Regions from separate parts of the Homo sapiens genome. Here region 2 is linked to region 1. Evidence: promoter capture Hi-C in 16 types of primary human blood cells and fetal thymus (Javierre and others, 2016). All regions are on one chromosome and are shown on one strand. Each heading gives the region's core, a stretch centred on a gene start or on the middle of the fragment in contact. The rest is flanking DNA. Distances are from core to core; before and after follow the strand shown.

What was found. The method cuts DNA at HindIII sites, captures the fragments that hold promoters and counts their contacts. A CHiCAGO score of 5 or more calls a contact.
Region 2: the fragment with the promoter of GNB2 here is called in contact with the fragment with the promoter of LAMTOR4 in region 1 in 3 of 17 cell types (total B cells, neutrophils and monocytes); the score reaches 6.3 in total B cells.

The regions. Positions count from the first base shown.
Region 1 is chr7:100,144,694-100,151,615 of GRCh38, forward strand. LAMTOR4 (late endosomal/lysosomal adaptor, MAPK and MTOR activator 4) reads left to right here and starts at 4,225. Exons shown (of 4, transcript NM_001008395.4): 1 at 4,225-4,282; 2 at 4,806-4,886. The coding sequence starts at 4,280. RefSeq lists enhancers at 3,228-3,840, 3,865-3,924, 4,195-4,304, 4,453-5,065 and silencers at 4,605-4,694, 4,705-4,794. The HindIII fragment of the contact is 7,868 bases long and covers 1-5,575 here.
Region 2 is chr7:100,668,068-100,674,989 of GRCh38, forward strand. It overlaps GNB2 (G protein subunit beta 2), which reads left to right and starts at 5,673. Exons shown (of 10, transcript NM_005273.4): 1 at 5,673-5,856. RefSeq lists silencers at 5,203-5,332, 5,343-5,422, 5,673-5,852 and enhancers at 6,283-6,492, 6,693-6,772. The HindIII fragment of the contact is 20,016 bases long and covers 2,077-6,922 here.

The sequences.
Region 1 (6,922 bases), core at 2,975-5,474:
CAAAGCGGCCATTTCAGAGGCCTACCCTCAGGGACACACTCTCTTTCTCAGGGATGCTCCTTGCTGAGAAAAAGAATTCAGCAATATTTCTCCCATTTGCTTTTGAAAGAAGAGAAATATGGCACTGTTCCACCCGGCTCACCGGCAGTCAGAGTTTAAGGTTATCTCTCTTGTTCCCTGAACATTGCTGTTATCCTGTTCTTTTTTCAAGGTGCCCAGATTTCATATTGTTCAAACACACATCCTCTACAAACAATTTGTGTTAACACAATCATCACAGGGTCCTGAGGTGACATACATCCTCCTCAGCTTACCAAAATGACGGGATTAAGAGATTAAAGACAGGCATAGGAAATCACAAGGGTATTGATTGGGGAAGTGATAAGCGTCCATGAAATCTTCACAATTTACATTCAGAGATTGCAGTAAAGACAGGCGTAAGAAATTATAAAAGTATTAATTTGGGGAACTAATAAATGTCCATGAAATCTTCACAATCCACGTTCTTCTGCCATGGCTTCAGCCAATCCCTCCGTTTGGGGTCCCTGACTTCCCACAACAGGCCACGTTGGCCAGGCTGGTCTCAAACTCCTGAGCTAAAAAATTAGCCGGGCGTGGTGGCAGACGCCTGTAGTCCCAACTACTCGGGAGGCTGAGGCAGGAGAATGATGTGAACCCGGGAGGAGGAGTTTGCAGTGAGCTGAGATCACGCCACTGCACTCTAGCCAGCCTGGGCGGGAAAAAAAAAAAAAAAAAAAGAGAGAGACAAACTCAATAGAAAAATGAGAAAAGAGTTGAACTGGGCCGGCATGGTGGCTCATGCCTGTAATCCCAGCACTTTGGGAGGCCGAGGTGGGTAGATCACTTAAGGTCAGGAGTTTGAGACCAGCCTGGCCAACATGGTCAACATGGTGAAACCCCCTTTCTACTAAAAACCCAAAAAAATTAGTCGTGCCTGGTGGTGCGTGCCTGTAATCCCAGCTACTCGGGAGGCTGAGGCAGGAGGATTGCTTGAACCTGGGAGGTGGAGGTTGCAGTGGGCCGAGATCGCACCACCGCTCTCTAGCCTGGGCAACAGAGGAAGACTATCTCAAAAAAAAAATAAATAAATAAGCCAGTTGCAGTGGCTCATGCCTGTAATCGTAGCACTTTGGGAGGCCGAGGCAGGTGGATTGCTCTGAGCTCAGGAGTTCAAGACCAGCCTGGGCAACACGGTGAAACCCCGTCTCTACTAAAAATACAAAAAAAAAAGCCGGGATGGCAACGTGCCCCTGTAGTCCCAGCTACTTGGGAGGCTGAGGCAAGGGAATTGCTTGAATCCAGGAGGCGGAGGTTGCAGTGAGCCAAGAGCGCACCATTGCACTCCAGCCTGGGCAACATAGCAAGACTCTGTCTCAAAAAAAAAAAAAAGTTGAACTGATACTTCACAAAAGATGATATCCCAAAAGCCAAACCTGTCTGAAAATGTGATCAACCTCATTAATATTTAGGTAAATGCAAATAAAAACTACAATGAGAAGCCATCGCATATCCAAAAACTTTACCCTAAAAGTGTGGCAATACTGGCTGGGCATGGTGGCTCAGGCCTGTAATCCCAACACTTTGGGAGGCTGATGCAGGCAGATCACGAGGTCAAGAGATCAAGACTATCCTGGCCAACATGGTGAAACCCATCTCTACTAAAAATACAAAAATTAGCTGGGTGTGGTGGTGCGCTCCTGTAGTCCCAGCTACTCGGGAGGCTGAGGCAGAAGAATTGCTTGAACCCGGGAACCAGGAGGTGGAGGTTGCAGTGAGCTGAGATTGCGCCACTGCACTCCAGCCTGGGCAACAGAACAAGACTGTCTCAAAAAAAAAACAAAAAACAAAAAGTGTGGCAATACCATGTGTTAATGGAGCTGGAGATAACTGGGAACTCTGACACATTGCTAGAGGAGTGTGAGTTGGTCCAACCAGTTTGATTTGCAGACCATAGATAAAAAAGATAGGAAACTCTCTGATTCATTTTATCTGGCAACCTGCTCTTTCTACCAAAAGCAGATAAAGAATATACCAAAAAGAAACTACAGCCCAATCTCATTTATCATAATAGATTTTAAAAATTCTAAATAAAGCAGTAAAACAAATGGGTAGTATAATTTGTTCCAGCAGATTTTATTCCAGAAACACAAAGATGGTTAAATATCAAGAATACTGCCACCATAATTTATTACATCAAAATCTTTTTTTTTTCTTTTGAGACGGAGTTTCATTCTTGTTGCCCAGGTTGGAGTGCAATGGCACAATCTCAGCTCATTGCAACCTTCGCCTCCTGGATTCAAGGATTCTCCTGCCTCAGCCTCCCCAGTAGCTGGGATTACAGGCATGCACCACCACACCCACCTAGTTTTTTTTTTTTTTGTTTGTTTGTTTTGTATTTTTAGTAGTGATGAGGTTTCACCATGTTGGCCAGGCAGGTCTCGAACTCCTGACTTCAGGTGATCCACCCGCCTTGGTCTCCCAAAGTGCTGGGATTACAGGTGTGAGCTACCACGCCCAGCCTTGAAATTGCTGTTTCTAACAAGTCTTAAAAGACACCCAGACTTTAACAATTGTTATTATATTCAGATTTTTTTGTTGCTTTTTGAGACAATCTTGCTCTTTTACCCAGTCTTGAGTGCAGTAGCATGATCATGGCTCACTGCAGCCTCAACCTCCTGGGCTCAAGCGATTCTCCCACCTCAGCCTCCCGGGTAGCTGGGACTACATGTGCAGTATCATGCCTGGTTAATTTTTAAATTTTTAGAGATGGGGTCTTGCTATGTTGCCCAGGCTTCTAGAATCATTCTTCATATTATTTCACTAACACAGCCTCCACCACATTAATATGGCAACAGGTTTAGAAATTATTTAAAACAAAAATTTCTAATGTTTACATATATTGTGTGATGTGTGTGTGTGTGTGTGTGTGTGTGTGTGTGTGTATCATTCCAAGGTACTGTTTCTAATTTTTTCCTGTAGGGAATGAATATTCAGTATTGCAGCTGCATTGGCTAGCTGGGGATTCTATTTACCACCACATTGTCCCGGACTGAATCTGGGGACAAAAAAACCACTTCGGGAACAAATTCTTGTCTTCAACAAAGAGCTGTCTTGAGTAGGCACAAAAGTAGCATTTGAGGGCCGGACGCGGTGGCTCAAGCCTGTAATCCCAGCACTTTGGGAGGCCGAGGCGGGCGGATCACGAGGTCAGGAGTTTGAGACCAGCCTGGCCAATATGGTGAAACCCTATCTCTACTAAAAACACAAAAATAGCCGGGCGTGGTGGTGGGCGCCTGTAATCCCAGCTACTCGCGAGGCTGAGGCAGGAGAATTGCTTGAACACGGGAGGCGGAAGTTGTATTGAGCCAGAGATCGCGCCATTGCACTGCAACCTGGGCGACCGAGTGAGACTCCGACTCAAAAAAAAAAAAAAGTAGCATTTGAGTACCTTTTTTTTCCTTTTCTTTTCTTTTTTTTTTAGAGGAAGGGCACCCAGGCTGGAGTGCAGTGGCACCATAATAGCTCACTGCACTCTGCAACTGCTGAGCTCAAGAGATTCTCCTCCATCAGCCTCCCTAGTAGCTGGAATTACTGGCGTGAGGCACCATGCCCGGCTTATTTTCTTATTTTTTTGTAGAGGTGGTTGGAGCGGGGGGACTGGGGAGGGTCTCGCTATGTTGCTCAGGCTCGTCTCGAACTCTTGCCCTGAAATGATCCGTCCTCGGCCTCGCAAAGCGCTGAGATTACAGGCGTGAGCCACGGCGCCCAGCCTTGAATAGTTTTTCACATGCATTGCACGTTATTTCCTTTTATTCTCTAGTTTTTGGGTCCAGTCTTAAACCTGGGAAGGGATTCATTTGGGGGGGTCACACCAGCGGGCATCCTGGCTCAGGCGGAACTCTGGCTCCAGACAGTGCGCCCAGGACCAAACGGTCAACCCCGGCCTACTCCCGCCCCTCCCAGATCCTCCCCTCCTCGGACGCTCCCGCGTCTTCCTCTCGCTCAGGCACTGAGGGGCGGGGAGATGGGTGTTAAAGAGGGGATATCACCAATCAACGTGCGCCTCCGGGAAACAGCGCTTCGCACTGGCTGGTTGGGTCTGACGACGTGGCCACTGTCCAATCCTCATGCTAGAGGCGGGGCTAAAGGCCAGTGGCGCAAGCAGAAGGAGGAGCGCAGCGGCTGCAAGCACGTGACCGGGGCCTGAAGCCGGAAGCTACCTATCTGGTAGGGAGCTCCCCCAGCACCGAAGACTGCGATGGTGAGTGAGGACGCATGCGCGAGAGGACCCGCCGGGGGTTCAGCGTCTCTGCTCCCCAGTCTGTGTGGTTTCCCCCTGGTGGGCCTGCGCTCCACCCTCACCTCCTATCCGCTCGGGGAGGAAGAGGGGATGGAAATGGGAGGGATGGCGACGAGAATGCTGGGGAGGGGTCTGTGGGAGGGTGTTCTGGGGCTGCGGGTAGTCTGCAGGTCGGGCGGAGACGAAGGGAGGTGAAGAGAGGGTCTGGGGGCAGGGGCCAGTGGGGCAGCAAAGGCCCCTTGGGGTAGCAAAGGTGGGATGTGGAAGGCCAGGGGAGCCCGGGGGCGAGAGTGGGGGCAGATGGAGGCTCGGGAAGATCAGTATTGAGGACCATGTAGGGGGGAGGGGGCCGGGAAGGGACCTGGCTGGGGAATGAGAAAACCTGGGGCCATCGTCAACCCAGAGACTTGGGTTTGCAGGTGAAGGGTATCGGGCCGTCCATCCCTCTAGCATGCTTCTCACGACTTGCATCTTTACCCACTAGACTTCTGCGCTGACCCAGGGGCTGGAGCGAATCCCAGACCAGCTCGGCTACCTGGTACTGAGTGAAGGTGCAGTGCTGGCGGTGCGTTCTGGGAAAGGGAGGGGGTCCCTTAGTGCACACAGCCCGGTAACCCCTTCTAATATTGGCCCTTCTTTTCTCGGCTTTTATCTGGTTTCCTGCCTGGCATCTATTAGGTTGGTACAAAAGTATTTGCAGTTTTTGCAATTACTTTCAGTAATCAGTCTGTGGAATCTTAGTCTCCTAACGGCTGCGATTTATTTATTTATAGTTTTTGAGACTGAGTTTCGTTCTTGTTGCCCAAGCTGGAGTGCAGTGGTGCGACCTCGGCTCACTGCAACCTCCGCCTCCGGGGTTCAAGCGATTCTCCTGCCTCAGCCTCCCGAGTAGCTGGGATTATAGGCACGTGCCACCATGCTCTGCTAATTTTTTGTATTTTTAGTAGAAACGGGGTTTCACCGTGTTAGCCAGGCTGGTCTCAAACTCCTGACCTCAGGTGATCCACCTGCCTCAGCCTCCCAAAGTGCTGGGATTACAGGCGTGAGCCAACATGCCTGGCCTTTATTTGGTATTTCTTAAAAAGGCATTTGTATTTTGTTCCATAGTACTGTATGGTGTTAGGTCTCTAGATTACAGGCGTGAGCCACCACGTCTGGCCTTTATTTGGTATTTCTTAAAGAGGCATTTGTATTTTGTTCCATAGTACTGTATAGTGTTAAGTCTCCAGATGTTTTTGACTTAGGTAGAGACAAAGCTTAAGGTTAAGGGTTGAAAACAATACAGGTGGTAAAGACTATTGAGGGAATCCAGGATATTAAAAATTCAACATGTTATGACAAGGTAACTAACTTTCCGGGAGGTAGGAATTCAGCCCACCTTAAAGGAGAGTATTTACAGTGGGGGAGGACTTATTTGCAGGTGTGTGGCACTAACCTATCTGAACTGATGGTAAGTTTATGCTGAAAAGATTTGGGAAGGTTTGAGGGAAGAGAGGAGGATATGGTCAGGGAGGATGTAATTGTGAAGGATCTTCAAGGCCAGGTTAACACACTTGAACTTATTCTTGAAGGTAATACAGTTTGAAAGGTTTTTTAAAACAGAAACAAGACCCAGTGAGGTGGTTGAGCAATATTGTTGTTAGTGATGTGAAGATGGGCAGAAGGAGGCGTCATTAAGAGATGAGACTGGGCTGGGCGTGGTGGTTCATGCCTGTAATTCTAGCACTTTGGGAGGCCAAGGCGGGCGGATCACGAGGTCAGGAGATCGAGACCATCCTGGCCAACACGGTGAAACCCCGTCTGTACTAAAAATACAAAAACAAAATTAGCCAGGCCTGGTGGCGGGCACTTGTAGTCCCAGCTACTCGGGAAGCTGAGGCAGTAGAATGGCGTGAACCTGGAAGGTGGAGGTTGCAGTTAGCCGAGATCACACCACTGTACTCCAGCCTGGGCGACAGAGCAAGACTCCGTCTCAAAAAAAACAAAAAAAAAAAGAGATGAGACTGGGCAAGTGGTGGTAAGAAGGAGGAGCAAGGAGAGAAGAGTTTTGTTTTTGTTTTTTTTTGTTTTTGTTTTTTGAGACAGAGTCTCGCTCTGTGGCCCAGGCTGGAGTGCAGTGGCATGATCTCAGCTCACTGCAACCTCCGTCTTCCGGGTTCAAGTGATTTTCCTGCCTCAGCCTCCTGATTAGCTAGGATTACAGGTGTGCACCACCATGCCCAGCTAATTTTTGTATTTTTAGTAGAGAGAGGGTTTCACCATGTTGGCCGGGCTGGTCTCGAACTCCTGACCTCATGATTTGCCCGCCTCAGCCTCCCACCCAAAGTGCTGGGATTACAGGCATAAGCCACTGCACCCGGCCTGTTTTTTTGTTTTTGTTTTTGTTTTTTTTGAGACGGAGTCTCACTCTGTCACCCAGGCTGGAGTGCAGTGGTGCAGTCTCCCCTCACTGCAAGCTCCGCCTCCCGGGTTCACGCCATTCTCCTGCCTCAGCCTCCCTAGTAGCTGGGACTACAGGCGCCCGCCACCATGCCCGGCTACTTTTTTGTATTTTTAGTAGAGATGGGGTTTCACCATGTTAGCCAGGATGGTCTGGATCTC
Region 2 (6,922 bases), core at 4,423-6,922, 520 kb after region 1:
TTACTGGGTATTTACCCAAAAGAAAAAAAATCCTTCTACCAGAAAGAAATATGCACTCGTATGTTCCTTGCAGCACTATTCACAAGAGCAAAGACATGAACTCAGCTTAGGTGCCCATCAATGGTGGACTGGATAAAGAAAATGGTACATGTATGTTATGGAATACTATGCAGCCATAAAAAGAAACAAAATGAAGAAACAAAGAAACATGTTTTTTGCAGCAACATGGATGCAGCTGGAGTCCATTCTCTTAAGTGAATTTAGAGCAGGAACAGAAAACCAAATACCATATGTTCTCACTTGTAAACAGGAGCTAAACATTGGGTACTCATGGACATAAAGACGGCATCAATAGACACTGGGGACCACTAGGGGGAAGAAGGAAGAAGATGGGGCAAGGGTTGAAAACTATTAATACCTAATGGGGCCAGGCATGGTGGCTCACGCCTGTAATCCCAGCACTTTGGGAGGCCAAGGCAGGTAGATCACTTGAGGCCAGGAGTTCAAGACCAGCCTGGCTATCATGGCGAAACCCCATCTCTACTTAAAATACAAAAATTAGCCAGGTGTGGTGGTGCACACCTGTAATCCTAGCTACTTGGGAGGCTGAGGCAGACGAACCACTTGAACCCAGGAGGCGGAGGTTGCAGTGAGCTGAGATCGTGCCATTGCACTCCAGCCTGGGCAACAGAGCAAGACCCTGTCTCAAAGAAAAAAAGAAAAAGAAAAACTACCTATTGGGTACCGTGCTCATTACATGGGTGATGGGATCAATCGTATTCCAAACCTCAGTGTCACACAATTTACCCATATAACAAACCTGCACACGTACCCCGTGAATCTAAAATAAAAGTTAAAAAAAACAAAAAAAGAGGCCGGGCACAGTGGCTCACGCCTGTAATCCCAGCACTTTGGGAGGCTGAGGCAGGTGGATCACGAGGTAAGGAGATCGAGACCATCCTTGCTAACACGGTGAAACCCCGTCTCTACTAAAAATACAAAAAATTAGCCGGGCCTGGTGGCACGTATCTGTAGTCGCAGCTACTCAGGAGGCTGAGGCAGGAAAATCACTTGAACCCAGGAGGCAGAGGTTGCAGTGGGCCGAGATTGCGCCACTGCACTACAGCCTGGGCGACAGAGCGAGATCCGGCTGAGTGCGGTGGCTCACACCGGTAATCCCAGCACTTTGGGAGGCTGAGGCTGGCGGATCGCTTGAGGCCAGGAGTTCGAGACCAGCCTGGGCAACATGACAAAACCCTGTCTCTACAAAAAAAAATACAAAAAATTAGCCAGGCATGGTGGTGTGCACCAGTAGTTCCATCTACTGGGGAGGCTGAGGTGAGAGGATCATCTCAGCCCAGGAGGTCGAGGCTGCAGCAAGCTGTGATTGCGCCACTGCACTCCAGTCTTGGTGACAGAGTGAGACCCTGTCTCAAAAAAAACAAAACCAAAAACACCAAAAAAAATTTTCTCCATAGGCACTTCAAACCTAAAACTTCCCAATCTTAAACTCTTGATCTTCCTCCCAGAATATGTTCCATCTCAAATGTTCTGCTCGAAGTAAACAATACCTCCAGGCCAAGCACTGTTATTTTTTCATTTTTGTTTGTTTGTTTTGTTTTGTTTTGTTTTGAGACAGGGCCTGGCTCTGTCACCCAGGCTGGAGTGCGGTGGCAGAAATTCAGCTCACCACAACCTTTGCCTCAGGAGTTCAAGTCATCTTCCCACCTCAGCCTTCCGAGTAGCTGGGACTACAGGCGCACGCCACCATGTATTTCTTTCTTTCTCTCTCTTTTTTTTTTAACGACGTAGTCTTGCTATGTTGCCCAGGCTGGTCTTGAACTCCTGGACTCAAGTGATCCGCCCACCTCTGCCTCCCAAAATGCTGGGATTACAGGTGTGAGCCACCACGCCTGACCCTAATCCATATTTCAATGCCCATCTGCCTCCTCTATAGATTGCAAGCTCCATGAGGAGGGTGCACCTGTCATTCAAGGTTGCATCCTCATTGCCTAGGGCAGTGCCTGATACATCATCCGGTTCAGTAAATATCAACGGAATGAGTTAAAACAGGAAAGCTTATTAGCACAGAAACCAAAGCAGCACACATGCCCTCTTGAGATTGACAAAATTGTGCTGTAGTCCTGCGCTGCTTGTTGTTAAGTGACTTTAGGGAAGTCATCGTGGCCATCTACAGATTGAGGAAATCAACGTAATTATCTCTGAGGTCCCTCCCAAATTCTCATGTGTAGTTGACATCTGTTATCTATTGCTTATATGTCACTGAATTGGCAGGTATGCATAAATAGAATTTGCATCTAACTACGAATACGATTGTTTATATTTTCTTTAAAAAAATATTGGGCTTTTGTTTCTCATATTGAGAGCTCTGTTATGCCATTTTCGAATTTCTCCCAGATGTCCCCCCCGGCCCACCTTCAAACTCTGCTTCCTTAGACAGATTTGGCAATAGCTTTGTAAGTGATATGGACATAATTGCCTAAAATAATGAAAACCTACAGGATTCTTTTTTCATTTTCCCTTTGGCATGTTTACAATTCCCTGCCCCACCAGGCAGATCATTCTGTGTGTGTGAGTGTGTGTACCCATTACAAAGACAACTACTATGTTCATAACATATTCGATTTGGAAAAAACAATTGTAGGCTGGGCACGGTGGCTGACATCTGTAATCCCAGCACTTTGGGAGGCCGAGGCGGGCAGATCACGAGGTCAGGAGTTCAAGACCAACCTGGCCAACATGAAACCCCATCTCTGCTAAAAATGCAAAAATTAGCCAGGCCTGGTGGCATGCTCCTATAATCCCAGCTACTCGGGAGGCTGAGACAGGAGAATCGCTTGAACCCAAGAGGCAGAGGTTGCAGTAAGCCGAGATTGTGCCATTGCACTCCAGCTCTGGGTGACAGAGCAAGACTCCATTTCAGAAAAAAAAAAAAAAGAAAAAAGAAAAAACAATTGTTTTTGAAAAGTGATTTGTAATGTCTTTCACAGAGACTAAATGAAGAGTATGTTTTGATACTTTTTAAAATATAATTTCATCTTTTTAGATTCTGACTCATGTGCACATGAATGTACCCATGTACATGGGTATATCTTGTGATGCTGAAGTTTGGGGTACAATTGATCCCGTCACCTGGGGTACAGTACCCAATAGGTAGTTTTTCAACCCTTCCCCCCTCTAGTAATCCCCCGTGTCTATTGTTCCCATCTTTATGTTCATGAGTACCCAGTGTTTAGCTCCTACTTATAAGTGAGAACATGCAGTGTTTGGTTTTCTGTTCCTGCAGAAATTTATCCACTTAGGATAAAAGCCTCTAGCTGCATCCATGTTACTGCAAAGGACACGATTTCTTCTTCTTTTCTTTTCTTTTGTTTCTTCTTTCTTTCTTTCCCTTCCTTCCTTCTCTCTTTTCTTTCTCTTTCTCTCTCTCTCTCTTTTCTGCATCCATGTTGCTGCAAAGGACATGATTTCTTCTTTTTTCTCTCTTCCTTTCTCTTTCCTTTCTTTTTTTCTTTCCTTCCCTTCCTTCCCTCCTTTTCTTTCTTTTACTTTTTCTTCTTTTGTCTTTCTTTCTTCTTCTTGAGTCAAAGTCTTGCTCTGTTGCCCAGGCCGGAGTGCAGTGAGTGGTGTGATTTTGGCTCACTGCAACCTCCGCCTCCCGGGTTCAAGCAATTCTCCTGCCTCAGCCTCCTGAGTAGCTGGGATTACAGGTGTGTGCCACCACGCCCAGCTAATGTTTGTATTTTTAGCAGAGACGGGGTTTCACCATATTGGCCAGGCTTGTCTCAAACTCCTGACCTCAAGTGATCCACCCGCCTCGGCCTCTCACAGTGCTAGGATTACAGGCGTGAGCCCCATCTCGTTCTTTCTTATGGCTGCGTGTTTTGATACTTTCAAATTACAAGGACTCAGTGAAGGCTATTCGTTGCCTTGAACTTCCCAAAGCATTTCCACAATCGATGGGGTTCTCAGTAAGAATCCGGGACTTGGAGGGCAGATGCTGTCAACATCCCCATTTAACAGATGTGGAAACTGAGGCCTAGACCTACGTTCTTGTCCCTTTACAGGCAAGGTCCCTGGAGGAAGGGGTTCATCTAGAGGCTCATACAGATAAACTGGAATGTACAGTAAAGTTTTGGCTGCCTGGGTTCATATCTAAACTCTGCAGCCTCAGGTCTCTTTCCACTATTAGAAAATGGGGAGAAGGCTGGGCGCGGTGGCTCACGCCTGTAATCCCAGCACTTTGGGAGGCCGAGACGGGCACATCACCTGAGGTCAGGAGTTTGAGACCAGCCTGGCCGACATGGTGAAACCTCGTCTCTACTAAAAATACAAAAAAAAATTAGCTGGGCATGGTGGCGGGCGCCTGTAATCCCACCTACTCCAGAGGCTGAGGCAGGAGAATCGCCTGAACCCAGGAGGCGGAGGTTGCAGTGAGCCGAGATCATGCCACTGCACTTCAGCCTGGGCGACAGAGTGAGACCCTGTCTCCAAAAAAAAAAAAAAGAAAAGAAAAGAAAATGGGGAGAATGTTAGCACTTAATTTCCCAGTATTGTGAGACTTAACATATGTCAGCCTGGGCAGCATAGCAAGACCCCACCTCTACCAAAAATTTAAAAATTAGCTGGGCATGGTGGCTGGGGCACGCCTGTGGTCCCAGGTACTAGGGAGGCTGAGGCAGGAAGATCACTTGAGCCGAGGAGATTGAGGTGGCAGTGACCTACAATCGCGTCACTGTACTCCAATTAAAAAATAAGTGTCGGGCCAGGCGCGGTGGCTCACGCCTGTAATCCCAGCACTTTGGGAGGCCGAGACAGGCAGATCACGAGGTCAGGAGATGGAGACCATCCTGGCTAACACCGTGAAACCCCGTCTCTACTAAAAATACAAAAAATTAGCCGGGTGTGGTGGCACACGCCTGTAGTCCCAGCTACTCAGGAGGCTGAGGCAGGAGAATCGCTTGCACCCGGGCGGCGGAGGTTGCAGTGAGTTGAGATAGCACTCCAGCCTGGGCGACAGAGAGAGACTCCGTCTCAAAAAAAAAAAGTGTGGCTCTCAATAAATGAGTTGTTATTTCAGTGGCAAGCCCTGAAAGGGGGTCTACAAAGGCCCAGTGGGCGAGGCTGAGGAAATGCCTGGACACGACCCTTCTCATGGCATTCCCGGGGCGCCCGCATCAGCCCCTACCCACTCCCGCTCGGGGACTTTCTCGGAATCGCGCTTCTTCTTCCAGCAGCCTCGAGGCCGGCCCCGTCCAGGTCTCTTTAGCTCCGCCCCCTGGTGAGGGGCGTGGCCTCCTCAGGGCCGGGGCGTGGCCCAACCGGGAACTGGGGCGTCGAACTCCCCTTCCCAGTCTGGAGCCACCCATTCCAGGCGGGGCGGGAGGCTGATCACGTGACCAGCGAGCGGTCTCACCCTCCTCATATGCCAGTACCACCTCCTCCAGTCCCAGAGGGGGGATGTCTTACTCCTTTCCGTGAAGCAAACCCTTTGAGTACGGTTTGCGTCCACAAAGCGTAGGGTGAGAACCTTGGGAGCGACTGGGCCCGTCTTTGCTCCCTCGGTGGGGTTTTGTCTCCTGGCTTCCCCCAAGTGCGAGGCAGTTGGTCTCGCCCAGCCGGGTCCTGGGCGCGGCGGCGGCAGCCGCGTCACTGGCGGGCGGGATCCCTCCGCTCTGGGGAGGCAGCGCTGGCGGCGGGGCTGGGGCCACTGAGGAAATCCATCCGCGCCGCCGCCGCCGCCGCCGCCGCCGCCGCCGCCGCCTCCGCCGCGGAGGAAGACAGCGCCGCCCGCGCACCGCCAGCGACCTCCGCCGCAGAGTCCCACCGCCACAGGTACCTTCGCTGGCAAAAGGAGTCCTCTCGCCCCCCAGCCCCAATTTCCCCCAGGGGAACCTCTCTTCCTTCGGTCTCCCGGGGCTGGCCTCCTGGGAGCGGACGTAACTCCCCAGACCTCCGCTCCCTTCCCCTCTTGCCCGGTCGCTCCCAAACCCGGAAGGGGAACTGGGGAACCCTCGCCCCCCACCGTGCGTGCGCTTCCCCGCACCATCAGCGAAGTTTTTGCCCGACCCCAGACCCCAGCCCAGCCCCGACTGCCTCTTGCTCCCTCGGAAGTTGGGGGGCTAAATTCCGGGCTTCCTCTAGGCCCCGCCCCGCCCCCTTTCCCCACCGCCACCCTCCCGCCTGCCCCCGGGGAGCACCCCTCGTGTCCTCCACTGTCGCACCCCTGCCGGCCCTCGCCTTGCACAACTCCAAAATCGGGGAGAAGCAGGCAAGGCCGCGCGCCACCCTTCCTTTCGTCTCCACCCTACCCACGATTTGGGTGCTGCCCGTGGTTTCTGGCCCCACTCGCCGAAACTGGAGCCCTCGGCGCCCTATTCCCTTTACAGATCCTCACCCCAAGCCCAGCTCCCAGGCGCCCGCCCCCCGCCCAGCTTTCTTTTAGGCAAAATGGAGGTCGTAGGGGCTGGAGGGCCAGGCCCACTGCGCTTCGCAGCGCCGCACCAGCCCGCGCCTTCCAGCTGCCAGATCCAGGGACCCTCCCGTCACTCTCCTGAGCCCCGCCAGACCTGCGGAGGCGGTTGCACCCTCATTTCTCTATGGAGCGCCGGCTGCTATATCCCTAGAGTCTGGGGGCTGCTGAGGGCCCTGGGGGGTGATGGGGACCGAGGGCTGAGAACGTCGCCCCCGCCCCCAGTTTCTTCCTCCAGCCGTGCTTCCTTCTGCCCTGGGCCTCCGGCGGTGCCGCCAGGCCTGGGCTGCTAGTAGGTGGAAGAGGCTTTGTGCGGGCCTGGGGGTTGGGTAGAGTAAGGAGTTCTGCCCGCACCCCCCATCCCCCGATTTTGAGGGTCACCCCTTGGCACTGGCGTAGAAAGCTGAACTTACAAGGAGGGGAAATGTC